Regions from separate parts of the Homo sapiens genome. Here all the other regions are linked to region 1. Evidence: promoter capture Hi-C in 16 types of primary human blood cells and fetal thymus (Javierre and others, 2016). All regions are on one chromosome and are shown on one strand. Each heading gives the region's core, a stretch centred on a gene start or on the middle of the fragment in contact. The rest is flanking DNA. Distances are from core to core; before and after follow the strand shown.

Region 1 (5,478 bases), core at 1,620-4,119:
CACGAGGTCAGGAGATAGAGACCATCCTGGCTAACACGATGAAACCCCGACTCTACTAAAAATACAAAAAAAAAAAAAAAATTAGCCGGGCATGGTGGCAGGCGCCTGTAGTCCCAGCTACTCGGGGGGCTGAGGCAGGAGAATGGCATGAACCTGGAAGGCAGAGCTTACAGTGAGCCGAGATTGCACCACTGCACTCTGGCCTGGGTGGCAGAACGAGACTCCATCTCAAAAAAAAAAAAAAAAAAAAAAAAAAAAAAAATCGTGAACATCTCAGCATTCCGTAAAGTTCACCCTTTCCTCAGACAACCTACCATTTTGTTAATTTCTGTCACCATGGCAGGTATGCCTGTTCTGCACCTTCATCTAGAAGGGACTGCACAGATGTCCTCTTTAGGATTTGGCTGGAAAGATGTCACTTTGCAAATGTATGAGATGAGAGATAAGAAAGTTGACATTTAGAGGCCGGCTGTGATGGCTCCCGCCTGTAATCCCAGCACTTGGGGAGGCCAAGGCAGGCGGATCACCTGAGGTCGGGAGTTCGAGACCAGCCTGACCAACATGGAGAAACCCCGTCTCTACTAAAAATACAAAATTAGCCGGGCGTGGTGGTGCATGTAATCCCAGCTACTCAGGAGGCTGAGGCAGGAGAATCGCTTGAATCCGGGAGGCGGAGGTTGTGGTGAGCTGAGATCGTGCCACTGCACTCCAGCCTGGGCGACAGAGCAAGACTGTCTCAAAAAAAAAAAAAAAAAAAAAAAAAAATATATATATATATATATATATGTATATACATACACACACACACATATAAAATTAGCCAGGCATGGTGGCAGGCGCCTGTAGTTCCAGCTACTCGGGAGGCTGAGGCAGGAGAATGGCGTGAATCTGGGAGGCGGAGCTTACAGTGAGCCAAGATCGCGCCACTGCACTCCAGCCTGGGCGACAGAACGAGACTGTCTCAAAAACAAAACAAACAAACAAAAAAAAATTAGCCTTAGCCAGGCGTGGTGGCGGGTACCTGTAACCCCAGCTACTCAGGAGGCTGAGGCGGGAGAATTGCTTGAACCAGGAGGCTGAGATTGCAGTGAGCCAAGATCGCCATCACTGCACCCCAGCCTGGGCAATAGAGGGAGACTCTAAAAAGAAAAAAGAAAAAAGAAAAAAAAATTGTAACTACCTCAACCACCCACTCTGGAGAACTGAAAATAGCATTATCACTTGGGTTTTTTTAATACCCTATTTTCTTTTTCTTCTTTGTTTTTTTTTTTTTTCGAGACAGGATCTTGCTCTGTTGCCCAGGCTGGAGGGCAGTGGTGGAGTCATAGCTCATCAAAAGCTCAACCTTCCAGGCTCAAGTGATGCTTCCGTCTCAGCCTTCTGAGTAGCTGGGACAACAGGTGCGTACCACCACGCCTAGTTTTTTTTTTGTTTTGTTTTGTTTGTTTGTTTGTTTGTTTGAGACGGAGTTTTGTTCTTGTTGTTCAGGCTGGAGTGCAATGGCGCGGTCTCGGCTCACTGCAACCTCCGCCTCCCAGGTTCAAGTGATTCTCCTGCCTCAGCCTCCCGAGTAGCTGGGATTACAGGCACCCGCCACCAAGCCTGGCTAATTTTCGTATTTTTAGTAGAGATGGGGTTTCACCATGATGGGGTTTCACCAGGATGGTCTCGATCTCCCGACCTGGTGATCCGCCCGCCTCGGCCTCCCAAAGTGCTGGGATTACAGACGTGAGCCACCGCGCCTGGCTAATTTTTGTATTTTTTGTAGAGACAGGGTTTTGCCATGTTGCCCAGGCTGGTCTCCAACTCTTGACCTTAGGTGATGCACCCCCCGCCTTGGCCTCCTGAAGTGCTGGGATTACAGGCGTGAGCCACTGCGCCCGACCTGGTTCCTCAATCTTTGTGGCATTTGTCTACCTTGACATTATGTATGTAGTAAGCGTTTTGGGGGAGTCCCAGCTCCGTCCACACTGACCACCCCCCACACCTGGCCTGGAGAGGGTGCTGGGCGTCTGCTGAGTGTCAGTGCACGTGGCCTGCATCCTGCTCGCTCATCCGCAGCTTCCCGGCCTCAGGCTATGTCTCTGTACAGCGGAGCCTGCGCCACGGAGCAGGCCCGCCACCTGGGTCCGGGGTCTGGGGTCTGGAGTTTGCGCTTGGTCTTTGGGTTGGGGGTTCCGGGTCTGAGGTATGGGATCTGGAATCCGGAGTCTGAAGTCTGGGGTTCAGAGTCTGGGATCTAGGATTCAAGGTCTGAGGCCTGGGATCCCGGACTGAGGTCTGTGCTCCAGGGTTTAGGATTCCCGGTCTGGAGTCTGGGGCCTGGTGCCTGGACCCCAAATTCTGGACCTCGGTCTGGAGTCTGGGCTTCAGGTCAGGATGCTTAGGGAGTGGAGCAAGAGGTCTTCCACCAGCTCCTCCCCTCTACAGGCCCCTCCTACTCTTCCCTCTCCTCCCCGTCCCCTCCCCTGCAACAGCCTCCCCCATTCACCTCCCTTCTCCCCTCCCTCCTCCCCTCCCACCTCCCCTCCTTTCCCCTCCCTCTCCTCCCCTCCCTCCTTCCCCCTCCTTTCCCCTCCCTCTCCTCCCCTCCCTCCTTCCCCCTCCTTTCCCCTCCCTCTCCTCCCCTCCCTCCTTCCCCCTCCTTTCCCCTCCCTCTCCTCCCCTCCCTCCTTCCCCCTCCTTTCCCCTCCCTCTCCTCCCCTCCCTCCTTCCCGCTTCCCCTCCCCTCCCTCCTCCCCTCCTTTCCCCTCCCTCCTCTTTTCCCCTCCCCTCCCTCCTCCCCCTCCTCCCCCTACTCTCCTCCTTTCCCCTCCCTCCTTCCCTCCTCCCCTCCCTCCTTCCCTCCTCCCCTCCCCCGCCCACGCCGCAGCCACAAAATGGCGGCGGGTGGGAGCGGCGGGCGTGCGTCGTGCCCGCCGGGGGTCGGGGTCGGCCCGGGCACGGGGGGCAGTCCCGGGCCCAGCGCCAACGCCGCCGCCACCCCGGCCCCCGGCAACGCGGCCGCCGCCGCCGCCGCCGCCGCCGCCGCCGCCGCCGCCCCTGGGCCGACGCCGCCCGCCCCGCCGGGCCCCGGGACAGACGCGCAGGCCGCGGGCGCGGAGCGGGCGGAGGAGGCGGCGGGCCCGGGGGCGGCGGCGCTGCAGCGCGAGGCCGCGTACAACTGGCAGGCCAGCAAGCCCACCGTGCAGGAGCGCTTCGCCTTCCTCTTCAACAACGAGGTGCTGTGCGACGTGCACTTCCTGGTGGGCAAGGGGCTCAGCTCGCAGCGCATCCCCGCGCACAGGTGGGCGCCCCGACCCCGCCAGCCCTGGCCCCGACCCACCCAGCCTGCTGCCCGGGCCCTGCACCTGAGGCCCTGCACCCCTCTGTCCCCGAGACCCCCGCACCCCTCCATCCCCGAGCCCTGCACCCCTCTGTCCCCGGGACCCCTGCACCCCTGCATCCTCAGGCTCCGAACCCAACTCGGCCTGCACCCCGGGGCCTGCACCTGAGGCCCTGCACCCCTCTGTCCCTGGGACCCCTGCACCCCTCCGGTCCTGAAACCGACCCGGCCTGCACCCCGGGGCCTGCACCCTTCCATCCCTAGACTCCACCCAGTTCCCTGGGCTCTGCACCCCTCTGTCCCTGCCTCTGCACCTCTCTGTCCCCAGACCCCACCAGGCCTGCACTCTGGGCCTCTGCACCCCTCCATCCCCAGGCCCCCCTGGATCCTCCACCTCTGGCTTGCGCCCCCAGCCTGTTCCCCGGGATCCCAGGCCCTGTACCCCTGGGACCCCTGCTCTCCTCCGTCCCTGGACCCACCCAGCCTGCACTCCGGTACCCTCCGTTCCTGGGACCCTCCAACTCGGCCTGCACTTGGAGCCCCTGGGCCCCTCCATCCTCAAACCCCACCCAGCCCGCACCCCAGAACCCTGAATACCCCATCCTCAGGGCCCTCCACCCCCCGCCTGCACCCTAGGACCCTCCATTCTTCCATCCCCAGGACGCTCCATCCCTGGACCTCACCCCTCCCTGCACCCCAGGTCCCCAGACACCTCTGCCCCCAGATCCCTGGGCCCCTCCACCTCCGGCTGGAACCCCTGCCTACACCCCAGGCCCCTCCATCCCTGGACCCCACCTGGCCTGCATCCCTGGGTCCCCTCCATGCCCTGGCCCTGCACCCCCACCCACCACCCCTGGGACTCCTGTGACCCTCCAACCCTGGGACGTGTACCCCTATCTGCTCCTCCATTCCCAGGACCCCAACCCACTGTTTCTAGGACCCATGACCCCACATGCCACACCCCTCCATCCCTATACCCGGGGATCCTCAGGACCCCTCCATCCCCAGGCCCTGCACCCTTGCCTGCCGCCCCTCTCCCCCTGGGACCCCTACTGGTGACCCCTCCGTCCCTGTACCCAGGGACTCTCCAGGACCCCTCCTTCCCCAGGTCCTTCACCCCTGCCCACTGCCCTTCCACTCTCTACTCCCGGGGCCCCCTGGGACCCCACTACACTCAAGTGTGTCACCCCTGCATCCCAGGATGGAGAGACTTCTCCGCTCTCACCTGAGACCCCCCGTCCCCAGTCCTCACCACCTCAGTCCGTAACCCCCAACCTATGACTCCTGAACTCCAGGACCCCTCCCTTCAGGGGTCGTGCTATTTCCTCCACCCCCACCCATGACCACAAGACCCCTCCCTCTTCCCCCACCATCCAGGGACCCTGCCACTCCCACCCGCACCCCTGTGCGCCAAGACCCCTAGGCCTTGCTCCCTGCGTCCTCCCTGCTGCCTCCAGACCCAGTGACCCCCACCGGAGACCCCCAGGCTCAGCACATGATCTGGATCAGAGACCTTCAAACCATGCTGCTCCCCTCCAGGGATACCCCCTGCCCGCCCTGCAGTCCAGATCATAGACTACCATCCACAGCCCCTCCAGCCCCGGACCCCCACCTCAGCCAGAGACCCCTGGGCCCTGCCACCTCCCACTTCAGTGACCACCCACCTCCAGCTCCGCCACTGCCAGGCTCTGGACCCTGGACTCTGCAGAAGGTTGTCTCCCCTGGGCCCTGCTACCCCCTGCACCCCATCCTATGATCCCCTGCCACCAGGCCACCACCCTAGACCCCTGCCCAGACTCCCATCTCCGGGCCCTTCCAACCCAGAGACCCCCAGCTCCGGGGTCCCTCCCTCCCCAGCCCCCAGCCCTCCTTTCTGGGAAAGAAGTGGGTTTGGCCCAGTATCTGTCTTTGCCAGTGTGCGGGGTACCGGCCCCAGGCCCCAGGTTCCCTCCACTCCCCGGTCCCTCTTACCCTGCCCCTCATTGGTCGGGGGCAGGGGCTGGGTTTTCTTGCTGCGGGCACTGGAGGGGGAGGGTCCTGCCCTCCCTTCTGACCTTCGGGTGCTTTTGTTAACGTGTTCTGGCTTCTTCCTGGGTGTTTATGGGCAGCTGGGTCTCCTTTCGTGGGGTCCTGCCCTGGGCGGTACTTAGCAG
Region 2 (4,796 bases), core at 628-3,127, 260 kb before region 1:
GGAGCTGCAGGCCTCCCTGTCTCCACACTTCAATCTGCAGGGGCTGTGTGGCCTGGTGCCTGAAGGCACACTGCCCGGGGCGCCCTGGAGAGGCGCAGTGGCGCTGGCAGCCGAGGTTCCAGAGCGCACGGTGGCGCAGTGGCTGGCGGAGGCCTGCACGCAGCCGCCGGAGGAGTTCGTGTGGGCTGTGGCCCTGCTGCTGCTGCAGCTGAGCGCGGCCCTGAAGTTCCTGGAGGCGTGGGGCGCGGCCCTAGTCGAGTTGCGGCCGGAGAACTTGCTGCTGGTGGCACCTCGGGGCTGTGCGACGACGGGGCCCCCACGCCTGCTCCTCACTGACTTTGGCCGCGTCTGTCTGCAGCCCCCTGGACCCCCGGGATCCCCGGGCCCCCACGCGCCGCAGCTGGGCAGCCTCCTCCGAGCGCTGCTCAGCCTTGCTGCGCCCTCGACCACGCCTTTGGCCGCGGGCCTGGAGCTCCTGGCAGCACAGCTGACCCGCTTGCGGCCCTCGGCGTCCCGGACGCGGGGCGCGCTGCAGGCGCTGCTCTGGGGGCCCGGGCCTGAGCTGCGCGGCCGCGGAGCACCGCTTGGTCCCTGGCTCCGAGCGCTCGGGCCCTGGCTGCGGGTGCGCCGCGGGCTGCTGGTCCTGCGCCTAGCAGAGCGGGCCGCAGGTGGGGAAGCTCCCAGCCTCGAGGACTGGCTGTGTTGCGAATACCTGGCCGAGGCCACCGAGTCCTCGATGGGCCAGGCCCTGGCGCTGCTGTGGGACTGACCCCAACCCAGGGCGAACACACCTGGTCCAGGCCTGCCCAGGAGGCAGGGCTGGGGCTGAGGTCAGCGTCTCCATGATAGCCAAGACACCCTCTTCCTGCAGAGTCCAGGAGCGCAGCAGAGAGAGCAATGCCCCACTCCAGAGCCTCCCCTCCCGTGCTGGGGATGTGGGTCAAGGGCTTCCCAGGAATGCAGCTGCCCCTCCAGGGCTGGGGGCTGGCCAGCGCCTCCTGTGTTGGGCAGCAGCTCTCTGAAGCCAGGGCCCCCACGCCACTTCCAGGTGTGGACAACCCCGCTGATCAATGTCTCTCTGTGTTCTGCCTTCCCCAGCAGCCAGGGCGCTCTTCCGCGTGGGTTCTGTCATTGTCTCCATGAGAGGCCAATGCCGGGACCAGAGGCATTCCTGGCTCTGGAGCACCCCCTTGTGCTGAAGATGGCCAGTGATTTTGGGCATGTGAATGCCCCTGTCCCTGGTGGAGAATTGCTTGGTGGTGTCACGGGAAGGGAAGGCTCCCTGGGACCTTAGACACCCAGCTCATCTCAGCGGGGTCTGGACTCACCTTCCCTAAAACAGTCCCCGCGGTTCCCTGCCACCTCCCCTCAATCCCTCTGCGCCCACCCTGCCTCCCTCCCTGTTCCTCCGTGACACACCAACTTCTTTCGCGCCCCCAAGCATTTGTGTAGGCTGTTCCCTCTGCCATACTGTTCCAGTTCCACTTTCTTTTTCTTTTTTTTTTTTTTTTTTTTTTGAGACGATCTCGGCTTACTGCAAGCTCCGCCTCCCGGGTTCACGCCATTCTCCTGCCTCAGCCTCCCGAGTAGCTGGGACTACAGGCGCCCGCCACCACGCCCGGCTAATTTTTTGTATTTTTAGTAGAGACGGGGTTTCTCCGTGTTAGCCAGGATGGTCTCCATCTCCTGACCTCGTGATCCGTCCGCCTCGGCCTCCCAAAGTGCTGGGATTACAGGCGTGAGCCACCGCGCCCGGCTACAGTTTCACTTTCTCTAAACAAATAAAGGTGCCCACTCTGGGCCATCGCTAGCTCCTTACCCTGCGTTCTCCGCCCACTCTCAGGAGCATTTATTCCTCTGTTACTGTCCACAAGGCTGTGAGTTCCCTGGGGGCAAAGGCCAGGCTTGGCACACAGTAGGTGCTCACTTAATACCACAGGATGATGTAATAAACAGGCACAGAGGAGACTCACTGGAGGGGGATGGAGTCTTCCTTTATGCCTCTGACACACTGCACTGCCCTTGCCTGTGGCTTCCTTCCTGGAGACTCAGAGTTGCCCCTCCATTCCATTCCCCATGGCAGTCCTGGGAGGATCTTTCCAACCCCAGATATGAGGTCCCTCTCCAGCTCAAACACCTCCCATGGCTCCCCAGTGCCTCAGAATACATACAGGGCTCTTCCAAAGTCTCCTCAGAGTCTCCAACCCCATGTCGTTCATCCCTGGAGGTTACTTTCCAGCCTCCACGCCTTTGCCCAAGTTGTTTTTTACACCAGAAAACAGCCCCCTCTACTCTGCTTCATACTCCTATTCATCCTGCATGGCCTCAGCTCTAATGCCCCTTCTCTGCATTTGCGCTGCCCAAATGAGCTGGGGGTATCTGTGTCCAGGTTTGTCCTCCCGGCCGACCCCACCACCGCTCAGACGGCTGAATATCCCCCCGGCCCGCTCGCCAAGTCTACAATCTTTTCGAGTTCCTCCTTTCCTCCTCTTTCCAGCCGGTTTCCCGGCCAGGCCTGGCCCTGATTTTCCGGGTGGCGCTCCCGGATGCGGCCGGCAGGTGGCGCTGCGGCCGGGCAGACGGCGGGGTTGCAGACCCGGAAGCGCTCCAGGCCACGACCCCGCCGGAAGTGCTGCTGCCCCGAACGGCGCTGCAGGTCCCTAGGGGCGGCCAGTAACACGGCGAACTCAAAAGTTGAGTTGGGAGCACAGACATCCCCATGCGCAGGCCCAGGCTGGGGCGGAAGGGGACGCGAGGCAGGAAGGGGCTTCAAGCGAGCAGTGGCAAGGCTGGCGCCAAGCTGAGGGCCCGGCCTCCCAGCCCAGGGGGTCTCCTCCGTGGGAGGGGTCCCGCAGCTGCCTGGGTGCCAAATCCCCCGCGACCCCTCCACCCAGGGCCCTCTGTGGTCCCAGGCACTCCTCCCACCAGTCCCCAGCGTCACCACCACAGAGCCAGGTGCATCGGGTGTAATCACTTTATTGGCTTTTGGAGAGCAATGGAGGGGATTAATACCTCATCTTTCCAAGTTAAAAGACTAAGACTGTTTCCAAAAGACTCCAAATAAGAAACTTCTCCTCAAAGTACAAGGATAATCTGAATCATCTTAAACCAGCAATAAAAAAGTAAAATATAAATTTTTATTTAGAATTAAAGCAAATACTTCAGTATCACAAACACAATATTAAACTTCAAGAAATACACCGCTAATTCGGAGTGAGCGTTTATTTGCACGATTACAACATGCGGACAAACCCAGGCGAGATGAGCGAGTCTACGGTTCCTACCCACCCGGCTGACAAGGGGTGGCCCCAGGGGCCGGATGCCCAGCCCCGAGGCGGCCCTACTCCTCCTCCTCTCCCGAAGACTCTCTCTCGAACGTGTAGGCCATGAAGCAAGCGTCGGGTCTCTTGGGGACAAGGGGATGCCCCGGTCTCACAATCTCAAAGCCCAAAAAGCTGAAGGTTCGGAGCAAGGCGGCTGCGGGGGAGAAGCCGTCAGAACCCCTGCCGACCAGAACCCCCCGCCCGCACCCCCCACCCCCGCAGGGAGACCGTGCCTGCGGGCTGAGAATGAAGGGGCGGCGCAGGCACCCCCACGCACCCTACTGCAGGCGATACGGGTCACCTACCTCTGTCCTCGCGGTTCTTGTGGAAGCAAATGAAGACATGGTCGGCTCGCAGCTGCTCCTCAGCGAACTCCAGGAGAACTGCAAAGCTGCAGCGAGTGTCAGCGTCTCGGCTGGCCCGACCCACCTGCCTACCTCCTGGGCCTTAGCAGCTACCCTGAGGCCCGCTCTACTCCAGGGTCCCCCTGGGGCCCAGATCGTCCTCTGGGTGGGGCCGTCCTGACACCACAGTGTTGAGCAGCACCGCTGCACCCACCCACGTGCATGCCCCATGACAGAAAAGCTCTGACACTGCCTGGCATCCCTTGGAGGGTAGAATCCCAGGGTACGAATTTGGAGTGCACTTTTTAAAAAGGGACCCCAGGCCGGGAGCGGTAGCTCACGCCTGTAATCCCAGCACTTTGGGAGGCCGAGGTGGGCGGATCACGAGGTCAGGAGTTCAAGACCAGCCTGGCCAACATAGCGAAACCTCGTCTCTACTAAAAACACAAAAATTAGCTGGGCATCGGTGGCGGGCGCCTGTAAGCCCAGCTACTCGGGAGGCTGAGGCAGGAGAATCGCTTGAACCCGGAAGGCAGAGGTTGCAGTGAGCCAAGATCATGCCACTGCACTCCAGCCTGGGCAACAAAAGCAAGACTCCATCTCAAAAAAAAAAAAAAGGGGGGACCCTGTCCCCACCAACAAAGCGATGGTGGCCCCCATATGTGCTGCCTGAAGGCAGTGCCCTCCCTCATCTGTCCCTGCACCCCTTGGGCAGCAACCCGCACCTGGTCCCTGCTCCCCTGGGTGAGCACTCCCCGCCTGTCCTTGCCCCTCACCTGGTCCCTGCTCCCCTGGGTGAGCACTCCCTGCCTGTCCTTGCCCCTCACCTGTCCTTGCTCCCCTCGGGCAGCGCGCCGCCCGGGATCTCGATGTAGAGGCTGCCGCCACTCAGCACTGTTCGCCAGTTAATGCGTTTGGCGTCTGTGAGCCTGGACTGGACGTTGAGAATCCTCGTCTTGTCGTTGGACGTTAGTTCCTCTGTTACATTCAGCCGATCATCCTGTCCAGGGGGTGCAGCCCAATTCAGAACCCTGACTCACCCCACAGGACTCCAAGAACCCGGCAGCGCTAAAGCTTGGGCCTAGGCCGTGTTGAGCTCAGGCAACGCCTGGGCTGCAGGAGACTGTGC
Region 3 (5,524 bases), core at 1,185-3,684, 300 kb before region 1:
CTGCCTGGATATTTGAGCATATTAAGGAATTACTGTCCATTTTCTTAAAAAATGATAATGGAATTGTTGGCTGTGTTTTTTAAGTCATTGTATTTTAGAAATGCAAATATTTATGGATGAAATTACTTCGTGTCTGGGATTTGCTTTGATATAGTCTGTTGGGGAGGGTGGAGAGGGACTTATGGAACCAGATGCATCACACTTTGGGGATGGCTTTATGGGGGTTCATTACGTGATTCTCTAAGCCTTTGTTTGTGTATAAAATTTTCCATAATAAAAGGTTAAGCCAGGCGCTGTGGCTCACGCCTGTAATCTCAGCACTTTGGAAGGCTGAGGAGGGTAGATCACGACGTCAGGAGTTCGATACCATCCTGGCCAACATGGTGAAACCCCGTCTCTACTAAAAATACAAAAATTAGCTGGGCGTGTTGGTGCACACCTGTAATCCTAGCTACTCAGGAGGCTGAGGCAGGAGAATTGCTTGAACCCAGGAGGCGGGGGTTGCAATGAGCCGAGATCGCGCCACTGCACTCCAGCCTGGGCGACAGAGTGAGACTCTGCCTCAAAAAAAAAAAAAAGTAATATAAGCAAGAGTTTCCTTCAGAATCTGATGTGGGTGATTAATTTCCATGTAAATCAGAGGAGAGTTGTGTTTTTTTTTTTTCTCGGCCACTGCGCCTGGCTGAGAGAATTTTTTTTTAATAGTAGATGGATAAATTTCATTCTAAACCTAGAACTTACTCTGGGGGTCACTTATTTGTGGGGACAGCTAATTTTTGTATTTTCATCGTGTTGGCCAAGCTGGTCTCAAACTCTTGACGTCAACCGATCCACCTGCCTTGGCCTCCCAAAGTGCTGGGATTACTGGTGTGAGCCAGCGCACTTGGCCAATATGCATATATATTTTTTGAGACAGGGTCTTGCTCAGTCGCCCAGAATGGAATGCAGTGGTGAGATCCTGGCTCACTGCAATCTCCTCCTCCTAGCCTCAAGCGATCCTCCCACCTCAGCCTCCTGAGTAGCTGGGGCTACAGGCATGCAACACCATGTCCAGATAATTTTTTTTTTAAAGAGATGAGGGTCTCGCTATGTTGCCCAGACTCCTGAGCTCAAGCGATCCTCCTGCCTCTCCCTCCCAAAGTGCTGGGATTCCAGGCACGAGCCACTACGCCCGGCCATTGTCCCCTTCCTGTCCTCGGTCAGTGTCTCCCCACCCCTTGTCCTGAGTGGAAGCCTCCTGAGGGCAGGGACGGCGCCTGAGCCTGGCATGGACGCAGCACCTAGTAGGAGCCCAGGCGATGTCGAGAAGTGCAGTTTCTTTTGCATCCTGCAGGACGAGGGAGGTGGGTTTGATGTCCCGTGGAGCACCCCAGGCCCAGCAGCTCAGCTGCTGGGTGATCTTGGGGTGTCCCTCAAGTCTCTGGGCCCAGCATCCCTGGCAGGATGCATCTCCCTCGGTTCCTCTTGGAGAGCTGCCCGGGGGGCGGGGGCAGGGAGAGCGTGGGAGGGGGATGCAGGCGCGGCTTTGAGCCTCCCAGGCGGTGGGGTGGGAGCACCTGGTTGCTAAGGTTACGACCACCTGTGATGGGACGTTGCCATGGAGACTTACCACCTGGGCGGAGAGGGCGGCTCCAGATGGGGAAGCCGTGGGAGAGGCTGGGGGGCAGGGAGGCAGCAGCCCGCAGAGGGGGGCATCCTTCTGGGGACGGCCGTGGTGGGGCCGAGGGGTCTCCTGTCCTGTGCTCTCCTGCCTGGGAAAACCAGCAGGAACTCTTCTGCAGCAGGAACCATTTCTAAAATTAAAAGCCCTCCTCCTCTCGCTCGCTCTCTCCAGCGTGAGGGACGGGACCAGATGCGGGCGGGAGTGGCAGTCATGTCCCAGGGAGGGAGGCTGCGGGGGCAGGTGGCCTGGGAGCCTCCCGTGTGGCCCCAGACAAGTGGCCACCCTCTGTAACTGGGGAAAGAGTCCTTGGCTGCTAAGAGGCAAACGTGTAGAGTCCTGGAAGCCTTGGGCTCCAGATGCCTGAGGTCAAGCCCCAGCTTCAGCAGGCAGATGCTGTGTGACCTGAGGCTAGTGACCTAACCTCTCTGAGTCCCCAAATTCTCATCTGTAAAGTGGGAATAATAATGAATCCAGGCCAGGCACAGTGGCTCACACATGTAATCCCAGCACTTTGGGAGGCTGAGATGGGAGGATCACTTGAGGCCAGTTCAGGACTGCAGTGAGCTATGATTGCACCACTGCACTCCAGCCTGGGCAAAATAGCAAGACCCTGTTAATTAAAAGTTAATCTGGGGGCCGGGCACCGTGGCTCACGCCGGTGATCCCAGCACTTTGGGAAGCCAAGGCGGGCAGATCACGAGGTCAGGAGATTGAGACCATCCTGGCTAACATGGCGAAACCCCGTCTCTACTAAAAATACAAAAAAATTAGCTGGGCGTGGTGGCAGGCGCCTGTGGTCCCAGCTACTTGGAAGGCTGAGGCAGGAGAATGGCGTGAACCCGGGAGGCGGAGCTTGCAGTGAGCTGAGATCGCGCCACTGCACTCCAGCCTGGGCGATAGAGTGAGACTCCGTCTCAAAAAAAAAAAAAAAAAAAAAAAGTTAATCTGACCCAGGCTCAGTGGCTCATGCCTGTAATCCCAGCACATTGGGGGGCCGAGGTGAGCGGATCACTTGAGGTCAGGAGTTCTAGTCCAGCCTGGCCAACATGGAGAAACCCCATCTCTACTAAAAATACAAAAATTTAATGAGCCTGGTGGCATGCGCCTGTAGTCTCAGCTACTCGGGAGGCTGAGGCAGGAGAATTGCTTGAACCCAGGAGGTGGAGGTTGCAGTGAGCCAAGATTTGCACCGCTGCACTCCAGCCTGGGCAAACAGAGTGAAACTCTGTCTCACAAGATATAAAAAAAGCTAATTTAAAAAAGCCAGGTGTGGTGGCACATGCCTGTAGTCCCAGCTACTTGGGAGGCTGAGGCAGGAGGACCACTTCAGCCCAGGAGTTCCAGGCTGCAGTGAGCCATGATCACACCACTGCACTCCAGCCTGGGTGACAGAATGAGACCCTGTCTCTTAAAAAATAATAATAAAAACTAATCCCTCATCATTTTGGGGAGGAGTAAATGGACACATAATATTACAAGACTGGGCTGGGCACAGTGGCTCACACCCGTAATACTAGCACTTGGGGAGGCCAAGAAGAGAAGATCACATTAGGCCAGGAGTTCAAGACCAGCCTGGGCAACTTAGTGAGACCCCATCTCTACAAAAAATAAAAAAATTAGCCAGGTGTGTTGCCACTCACTTGCAGTCCCAGCTTCTCGGGAGGCTGGGGTAGGAGGATCACTTGAGCCCAGGGGGTTCAAGGCTGCAGTGAGCTATGACTGCGCCACTGCACTCCAGCCTGGGTGACAGAGCGAAACCCTGTCTTAAAAAAGGCTGGGGCCGGGCTCGGTGGCTCACGCCTGTAATCCCAGCACTTTGGGAGGCTGAGGCGGGCCGATCATGAGGTCAGGAGATTGACACCATCCTGGCTAACATGGTGAAACCCTGTCTCTACTAAAAATACAAAAAAAAATTAGCCGGGCCTGGTGGCGGGTGCCTGTGGTCCCAGCTACTCGGGAGGCTGAGTCAGGAGAATGGCGTGAACCCGGGCGGTGGGGCTTGCAGTGAGCCGAGATCGCGCCACTGCACTCCAGCCTGGGCAACCGACAGGGTGAGACTCCATCTCAAAAAAAAAAAAAAAAAAGAAGAGAGGGTAGAGCTTGCACTGGACCCATCAGCAAATTACTGGACATCTTAGCAGGCATGTGCCACGCAGGGAGAGATGGAAGGTCGGGGTGGAGACGCGAGTGAAGAGGGGGAAAGGGGCGGGCAGAGGTCTGGGGGAAGGGCGTTCTAGGCAGAGGGAGCAGCCCGTGCTCAGGCCCTGCAGTAGGAGCCTGGCCCAATCTCCACCCCCAAGGGCTCGGGAGCACTGGCCACAAACCGGGCAGAACCACTGCAGAGTCTCTGCAGCCCCGGGAGAAGATGGGAACTGTTCCGATCTCCATTTTGCAGAGGTGGAGACCGAGGCTAGAGGGACATCCCCCACGGTTACACAGGCAGGGCCTCGACTGGACCCCAGCTGGCATCCCTCACCCTCCAGGACTCATAGCAAGTGTCTCCTCCTCCGGGAAGCCTCCCTGGCCCCTGGCTTCGGTCCGGGACCCGGTGTCACTACTGCCTCTTCCACGCCGCTTTGTGACGATTTCATATTTCAGGCATCTGCTCCCTCTGTCCGAAGAAATCCCCCTTGAGGCTGGAAGCGTCTCCTCCTCCTCCCTCCAGCCCTTGGCCTGGTATACAGTAGGTGCTCAATGAACACCTTCCTCCAAGAGCCCTGAGAGCCAGCTATCAGGAGCATCACTTTACAGAGAAAGAAACACGTTCAGAGAGAGAAGGAGACCTCCCCTACTGGGGTCACACAGCACAGCAGCCCAGGGCCATTTGGTGGGGAGAGCATGGGGTGTCATGAAGTCCTTCTGGACCTCTCTGGGGCCAGGAATTGAACCATACCCGCCCCCCACAGCATCCTGTGGGGGGCCTGGCCTGCAGCCTCCCAGGGATGCGGTTTCTGGGCCTCCAGCCAACGCGACAGTCTGGGAACAGAGCCTGCTTGAGTCACAGGTGGCTGCGTGAGTGCCAGGCCACCGCCAAAGCCACTGGGAATACACAGCTGGTGGGGAGGACTGCAGAGTGGGTGAAGGGGGCAGACAGGGCAAGGTTACACACACAGGTTCCCGAGGCCTCCTTCTCACCCCTCACTTGGGACAAATGGCATCTCCCAGCCTTGGTTTGCTCATCTGTGAGACAGGGAGGCTAAATGTGGCTTTTAGAAGATGCAGTGAGGGGCCGGGCATAGTAGCTCACGTCTGTCATCCCAGCACTTTGGGAGGCCGAGGCGGGTGGATCACCTGAGGTCAGGAGTTCGAGACCAGCCTGGCCAACATGGTGAAACTCTATCTCCCCTAAAAATACAAAAATTAGCCAGGCATGGTCATGGGCGCCTGTAATCCCAGCTACTTGGGAGACTGAGACAGGAGAATCGCCTGAACCCGGGAGGTGGAAGTTGCAGTGAGCCAAGATTGCACCACTGCACTCCAGAATGGGTGACGAGAGCAAAACTCCATTTCAAAAAAAAAAAAAAAAAAAAAAGACAAAAAAAAAGGTAAAAAACTTTCCATGAGCACTCGCAGTGCACTTGGTGTGTGCGCTGCTGTGTGCTAGGCGGAAGGCACATTGGGGAACAAGCCCATTAGACAAACTGAGAGGCTCCAAGCTGCTCGATGGAGGGACAGAGAGAAAGGCTGTCCAAGCTGGGCACAGCGAAGATCAAAGGCCTGGGACTGGAGGGACTTGGCCTGTTTGAGGAAGGCTGAGGGGGTGGAGCCCGGGAAAGAGTGAGTGAGGACAGGCCAGGGGGAAGGAGGTGGTGCGGCAGACCAAACAGTGCAGGCAGCCGGGCGGTGGCTCACACCTGTCAT
Region 4 (4,776 bases), core at 1,235-3,734, 310 kb before region 1:
TCACAGAATGGTAGCAAGCAAGCGAGTTGAGGACTGTCACCAACCAGGCTCCTGCCCTGAGAGCAAGTCTCATTCTTGGGCAATCGGACTCAAATTTCCACTGCCGCGAAGCACTGCCCCCCTCCAGGGACAGGCGTCTCAGGGTGTATTTACAACCAGGGTTCTGGAAGGGGCAGGAACACCTGCTCTCTCACGTCCCTCTGACACATCCTTTGACTCCCCACCCTCCGGATAAAGCTCACACTCCTCAGCCCGCCCAGGTTAAAGTCCACGCACCCCAGCACCAAGCGCCTTCCACGGCCTGGCTTCCACCAGACAACCTGTCATCCAGACTAGGAGGCTGAATGCTCTGCCTTCACTCTCTGCCTGGGGCCACTCGCACCACTGCCCCCTCCTCTGTGCCCCTGCTCCAGCAACCCTCCACGGCCCACCCCCCGGGCCTCCTTGGTGGTGACATCTTTCAGGGTGTAAACCCTTCCTTCCAGCATTATTCCACCCTACACTCCAGCCACAGCCCACCCCTTGCCAACCCCAAATAACCTGCCAGCTCTCACACCTCCCAGCCCCCGCTTATGCTGCTTCTGGTGCTTCCAACACCCTTCCCCTCCTGCCGACCCGGCAAACTCCTACTCATCATTCAGAACACCTGCCTCGGGGCCGGGCACGGTGGCTCACGCCTGTCATCCCAGCACTTTGGGTGGCCGAAGCAGGTGGATCACCTGAGGTCTGAAGTTCGAGACCAGCCTGACCAACATGGTGAAACCTCGTCTCTACTAAAAAAAAAAAAAAAAAAATTTAGCCAGGAGTGGTGGCATGCACCTGTAATCCCAGCTATTCGGGAGGCTGAGGTGGGAGAATTGCTTGAACCGGGAGGCAGAGGTTGCAGTGAGCCTAGATCATGCCACTGCACTCCAGCCTGGGCGACAGAGCGAGACTCCGTCTCAAAAAAAAAAAATAGATCTGCTTCGGAAAAGCCTTCCCAGGCAAACTGAGTCCCTCTCTCCACAGAGTTCTGTGATCTTTCTTCCACCTCTGGCTTTCCCCCTCCTTCCAAATGTCTGGGGAGCTCTAGGTGCCTGGCTGCAGAATGGGGGGAGTCCAAAGGGGGCTGACAGAGCAGCTGGGGGTAGGACTGGGGTTCTCAGAAAGCTTCCGAGGGGGCCCGACAGCCTTGCAGAGACCAGGGGCATCTCAGGGTAAGAGAAAAGACTAGAGAGTGAAGCGACTGCAATGAGCTGCAGGCTTCCCCAGCAGCCAGGTCACAACTGGACGGCGCACTCATCTGGATGCGACACGGTCTGACATACTTTGAAAGGGTCACCCCTGCTGTGTCGAGGATGGACTGGGGATGTGGTGGACAAAGGCAGCCACAGCAGAGGGATAGCGGTGGGGCTGGAGGAGTGGAGACTGAGGAGCCAGGTGGCGGCGACGCCTTAAGAGTGAGAACTCTGAGGGGGTAGTGAAGGTTAAGGGCTGCATTTGTGGGGCTGCTCCAGGTTCCATTGCCTGAGCCACCGAACTCAGGAGAGAGGGAAGATTTGGAATTAAGAAAATAAAAGATGCAGTTATGACAGTGCGATCTCGTAGACTGTCCCCACTAGAACCTGACACTCTTTACATCAAATGACACACAATGAACATAATGAAGGCCTGTTGGCCCTGGGCGCTGGTCACCCTGGACAGAACCTCCAGAATCCACACCATAGTCGGTCCTCCTTCTGCACACGAATTCCATCGTCCAAGGTCACGGAGTAAAAGATGGAGCGGGGATCCGACCCCAGTGCAGGGCTGGACTCCTGGCCGCTCCAGGATGCTGCCAGTTACTGGGGGACGCGCGGGACGCCTCTGGGTTCCCCCACCGCACCCCCTAGGGTGAGGTTAGCTTAGCACCGTGCCCGTTCCGCCTAAGGGGAAACTGAGGCTCGGAGAGGGGTGGGCAGCCGCCTGCTCAAGGCCACAGAGCCGGAGAGAGGCGTCCCCGGCGGCAACTGGAGACCCCGAAACGGAGAAGCAGAACCGGAGGATGGAGGGGGCACAAATTTCAGACCCGGTGGGAAGTGAGTGGCGCTGCAGCGGCGGAGGGCCTCCGAGGCGGGGAAAGGAGAGGAGCCGGGGACAGACCCGCAAGGTCACGGCCGAGCCCCGGCACCGCCGGCCGACAACGCGGGGACGGCGGATCCCCGAGGCTGGACCCCCAAGACGGGCCGAGCGGGGTCGTTCCTGCGCGTAGCCCGGGGACAGAGAGGCCGAAGGGCCGCAGCCCGCGGTGCCGTCGGGACCGGTGCCGCGCTCACCTGGGCCGCGAGGAGCAGAAAGGCCGCCAAAAGCCGCGCCAGCGCAGCCGCCACCGCTGCCGCCATGTCGGCCGGTGCCCGCCGCAACCAACGGCAGATGTTTCCCAGCAACGCCCCGAGACCCCGGGCCACGCATGCGCCGCGCATGCGCGTGGGGGAGGTCAAAGGGCGCGGGGCGGTGCCTGCGAAGAGCCACACGGCGCGACAAGATGGCGGTGAGCGCGCGGCGGAATCTGGAGCCGGGGGGCGTGGAGCTCGGGCCGCGCTCCAGGTCTCATGCGCTCTGCTTTCCCCGCAGGATAAGGAGAAGAAGAAAAAGGAGAGCATCTTGGACTTGTCCAAGTACATCGACAAGACGATCCGGGTAAAGTTCCAGGGAGGCCGCGAAGGTGAGGAGGCTCCCGCTGTCGGTACCCCCTCTTTAAAAATTTCAAATAAACCCAGCAACAGAGATGATGAGGACGCATGCGGAAGCACCTCTTTTATTTATTTTCATTATTTTTTTTGAGACGCAGTCTCGCTCTGTCACCCGGGCTGGAGTGCAGTGGTGCGATCTCAGCTCACTGCAACCTCCGCCTCCCAGGTTCAAGTGATTCTTGTGCCTCAGCCTCCCGAGTAGCTGGAATTAATGTGTACCACCACGCCCGGCTAATATTTGTATTTTTAGTAGAGAGGCCATGTTGGCCAGGATGGTCTCAAACTCCTGGCCTCAAGCGATCTGCCTGCCTCAGCCCCCTAAATTGCTGGGATTTCAGGCATGAGCCACCATGCCCAGCCTAGCATTTTTGACTGGGCAAGTGAGCTGCCTTCTCCTAGCCTCCGTTTCCTCATTTGTCAAATGGGGCTGGTAACTCCACCCACTTCACAGGGGGTGGTGAGAATGAATGGTTACAGGCATGTAATGTAATTGAGGCAGCTCTCAGCAGGAAGTAAGCAGTCAGACAACACGTCACTTATTCAATAGCCTCTTGGATCTTTGGTTTCTTTTTTTTGTAAGACGGGGACCCAAACCTCTTTGTCCCTGGATTGTAGACAACTGGGTGGCATGAGAGTTATTAAAAATCACAGTGCCCCAGCCGGACGGGGCGGCTCACGTGTGTAATCCCAGCAATTTGGGAGTCTGAAGCAGGAGGGTGGCTTCACCCTAGGGTTTGAGGCTGCAGTGAGCTATGACCGCACCACTGCACTCCAGCCTGGGCCACAGAGCAAGGCCCAGTCTCAAAAGAGAAAAAGGAGGCCAGGCACAGTGGCTCATGCCTTTAATCTTGACACTTTGGGAGGCCGAGGCAGGCAGATCAGGAGGTCAGGAGATCAAGACCATCCTGGCCTACGTGGTGAAACCCTGTCTCTACTAAAATACAAAAAGTTAGCTGGGCATGGTGGCGCACGCTTGTAGTCCCAGCTACTCGGGGGGCTGAGGCAGGAGAATTGCTTGAACCCCAGAGGCGAGATTGTGCCACCGCACTCCAGCCTGGCGATAGGGCAAGACTCCGTCTCAAAACAAAAAGAAAAAGGAATATGAATAAAATGTTTTCTCAGTCTACACCATGCTGACTCCGGACATGGAAGGACATGAGTGAGCGGCCGCTCTTGCTGGTCACACTGCTTCCCTTTGTTTTCTGCCCTTCATAGCAAATCACCCATTTAGCAGCTGAAACAGCACCATTTTATTATCTCACAGGATCTGTGAGTCAGGAGCCAGGGTACCACAGCCTCAAGGGCTCTCAGGAGGTTGTAACTGAGGGTTGTTTTTTGGGGTCCATCATCTTGGGGTCTTCTTCTGAGCCCACTGGTTATTGACAGAGCTCAGTGCCTTACCTTTGCAGGGCCAGGGTCCCCGTTCTGGCCAGTGTTGGCTAGGGACACTTGCAGCTCCCGGACGCTGCCAGCTCGGGACTCTGTTCCACCGTGGTGGTCTGCCCCTACAGTGCTGCAGGCTGAGCTGACATTTGTCCATATTCAGTTATTCGGGCCAGTGGGAGAATCATCTTTCAGAAAGGGTTTGGGGCCGGGTGCGGGGGCTCACGCCTTAATCCCAGCAGTCTGGGAGGCTAAGGCAGGTGGATCACCTGAGGTCAGGAGTTCGAGACCAGCCTGGCCAACATGGCGAAACCCCATCTCTACTAAAAGTACAACAATTAACTGGGCGCTGTGGCTCACGCCTGTAATCCCAGCACTTTGGGAGGCTGAGGCGGGCAGATCACTTGAGTTCAGGAGTTTGAGACCAGCCTGGCCTACATGGCAAGGCCCCATCTCTACTAAAAATACAAAAATTATTTGGGCATGGTGGCGCATGCCTGTAGTCCCAGCTACTTGGGAGGCTGAGGCAGGAGAATCGCCCTGGAGGCAGAGGTTGCAGTGAGCTGAGATCGCGCCACTGCATTCCAGCCTGGGCGACAGAGCAAGACTCCATCTCAAACACACACACACACACACACACACACACACACACACACACACACAAAAAGCAGAAAGGGTTTGG

What was found. Contacts are between HindIII fragments. The CHiCAGO score rates a contact against its expected background, and 5 or more counts as called.
Region 2: a fragment that was not itself captured here is called in contact with the fragment with the promoter of BTBD2 in region 1 in 1 of 17 cell types (fetal thymus); the score reaches 6.4 in fetal thymus.
Region 3: a contact is called between a fragment that was not itself captured here and the fragment with the promoter of BTBD2 in region 1, in 2 of 17 cell types (M0 macrophages and M1 macrophages). The highest score is 5.4, in M0 macrophages.
Region 4: a contact is called between the fragment with the promoter of LSM7 here and the fragment with the promoter of BTBD2 in region 1, in 1 of 17 cell types (monocytes). The highest score is 5.1, in monocytes.

What each region holds. Positions count from the first base shown.
Region 1 is chr19:2,013,105-2,018,582 of GRCh38, reverse strand. It overlaps BTBD2 (BTB domain containing 2), which reads left to right and starts at 2,869. Exons shown (of 9, transcript NM_017797.4): 1 at 2,869-3,286. The coding sequence starts at 2,880. It overlaps LOC107985278 (a long non-coding RNA gene), which reads left to right. Exons shown (of 4, transcript XR_001753845.2): 3 at 1,283-1,400; 4 at 1,489-2,238. RefSeq lists silencers at 3,063-3,212, 3,223-3,272. The HindIII fragment of the contact is 21,370 bases long and covers 1-5,478 here.
Region 2 is chr19:2,271,653-2,276,448 of GRCh38, reverse strand. It overlaps OAZ1 (ornithine decarboxylase antizyme 1), which reads right to left. Exons shown (of 5, transcript NM_004152.3): 3 at 4,495-4,667; 4 at 3,629-3,714; 5 at 2,961-3,477. The coding sequence ends at 3,341. It overlaps PEAK3 (PEAK family member 3), which reads left to right. Exons shown (of 4, transcript NM_198532.3): 4 at 1-1,818. The coding sequence ends at 769. Among named protein-coding and RNA genes, the nearest start is that of OAZ1, 4.6 kb to the right of the region's middle. RefSeq lists enhancers at 464-1,398, 2,203-2,342, 3,783-3,842, 3,853-3,912 and silencers at 2,723-2,972, 3,433-3,582. The HindIII fragment of the contact is 5,733 bases long and covers 1-4,743 here.
Region 3 is chr19:2,309,008-2,314,531 of GRCh38, reverse strand. No RefSeq gene overlaps it. Among named protein-coding and RNA genes, the nearest start is that of LINGO3, 3.6 kb to the right of the region's middle. The HindIII fragment of the contact is 6,944 bases long and covers 1-5,524 here.
Region 4 is chr19:2,326,294-2,331,069 of GRCh38, reverse strand. LSM7 (LSM7 homolog, U6 small nuclear RNA and mRNA degradation associated) reads left to right here and starts at 2,484. Exons shown (of 4, transcript NM_016199.3): 1 at 2,484-2,509; 2 at 2,593-2,683. The coding sequence starts at 2,504. It overlaps SPPL2B (signal peptide peptidase like 2B), which reads right to left and starts at 2,386. Exons shown (of 15, transcript NM_152988.3): 1 at 2,295-2,386. The coding sequence starts at 2,360. RefSeq lists silencers at 2,100-2,359, 3,380-3,479 and enhancers at 2,570-2,619, 2,630-2,679, 2,115-2,769, 3,050-3,109. The HindIII fragment of the contact is 4,029 bases long and covers 1,152-4,776 here.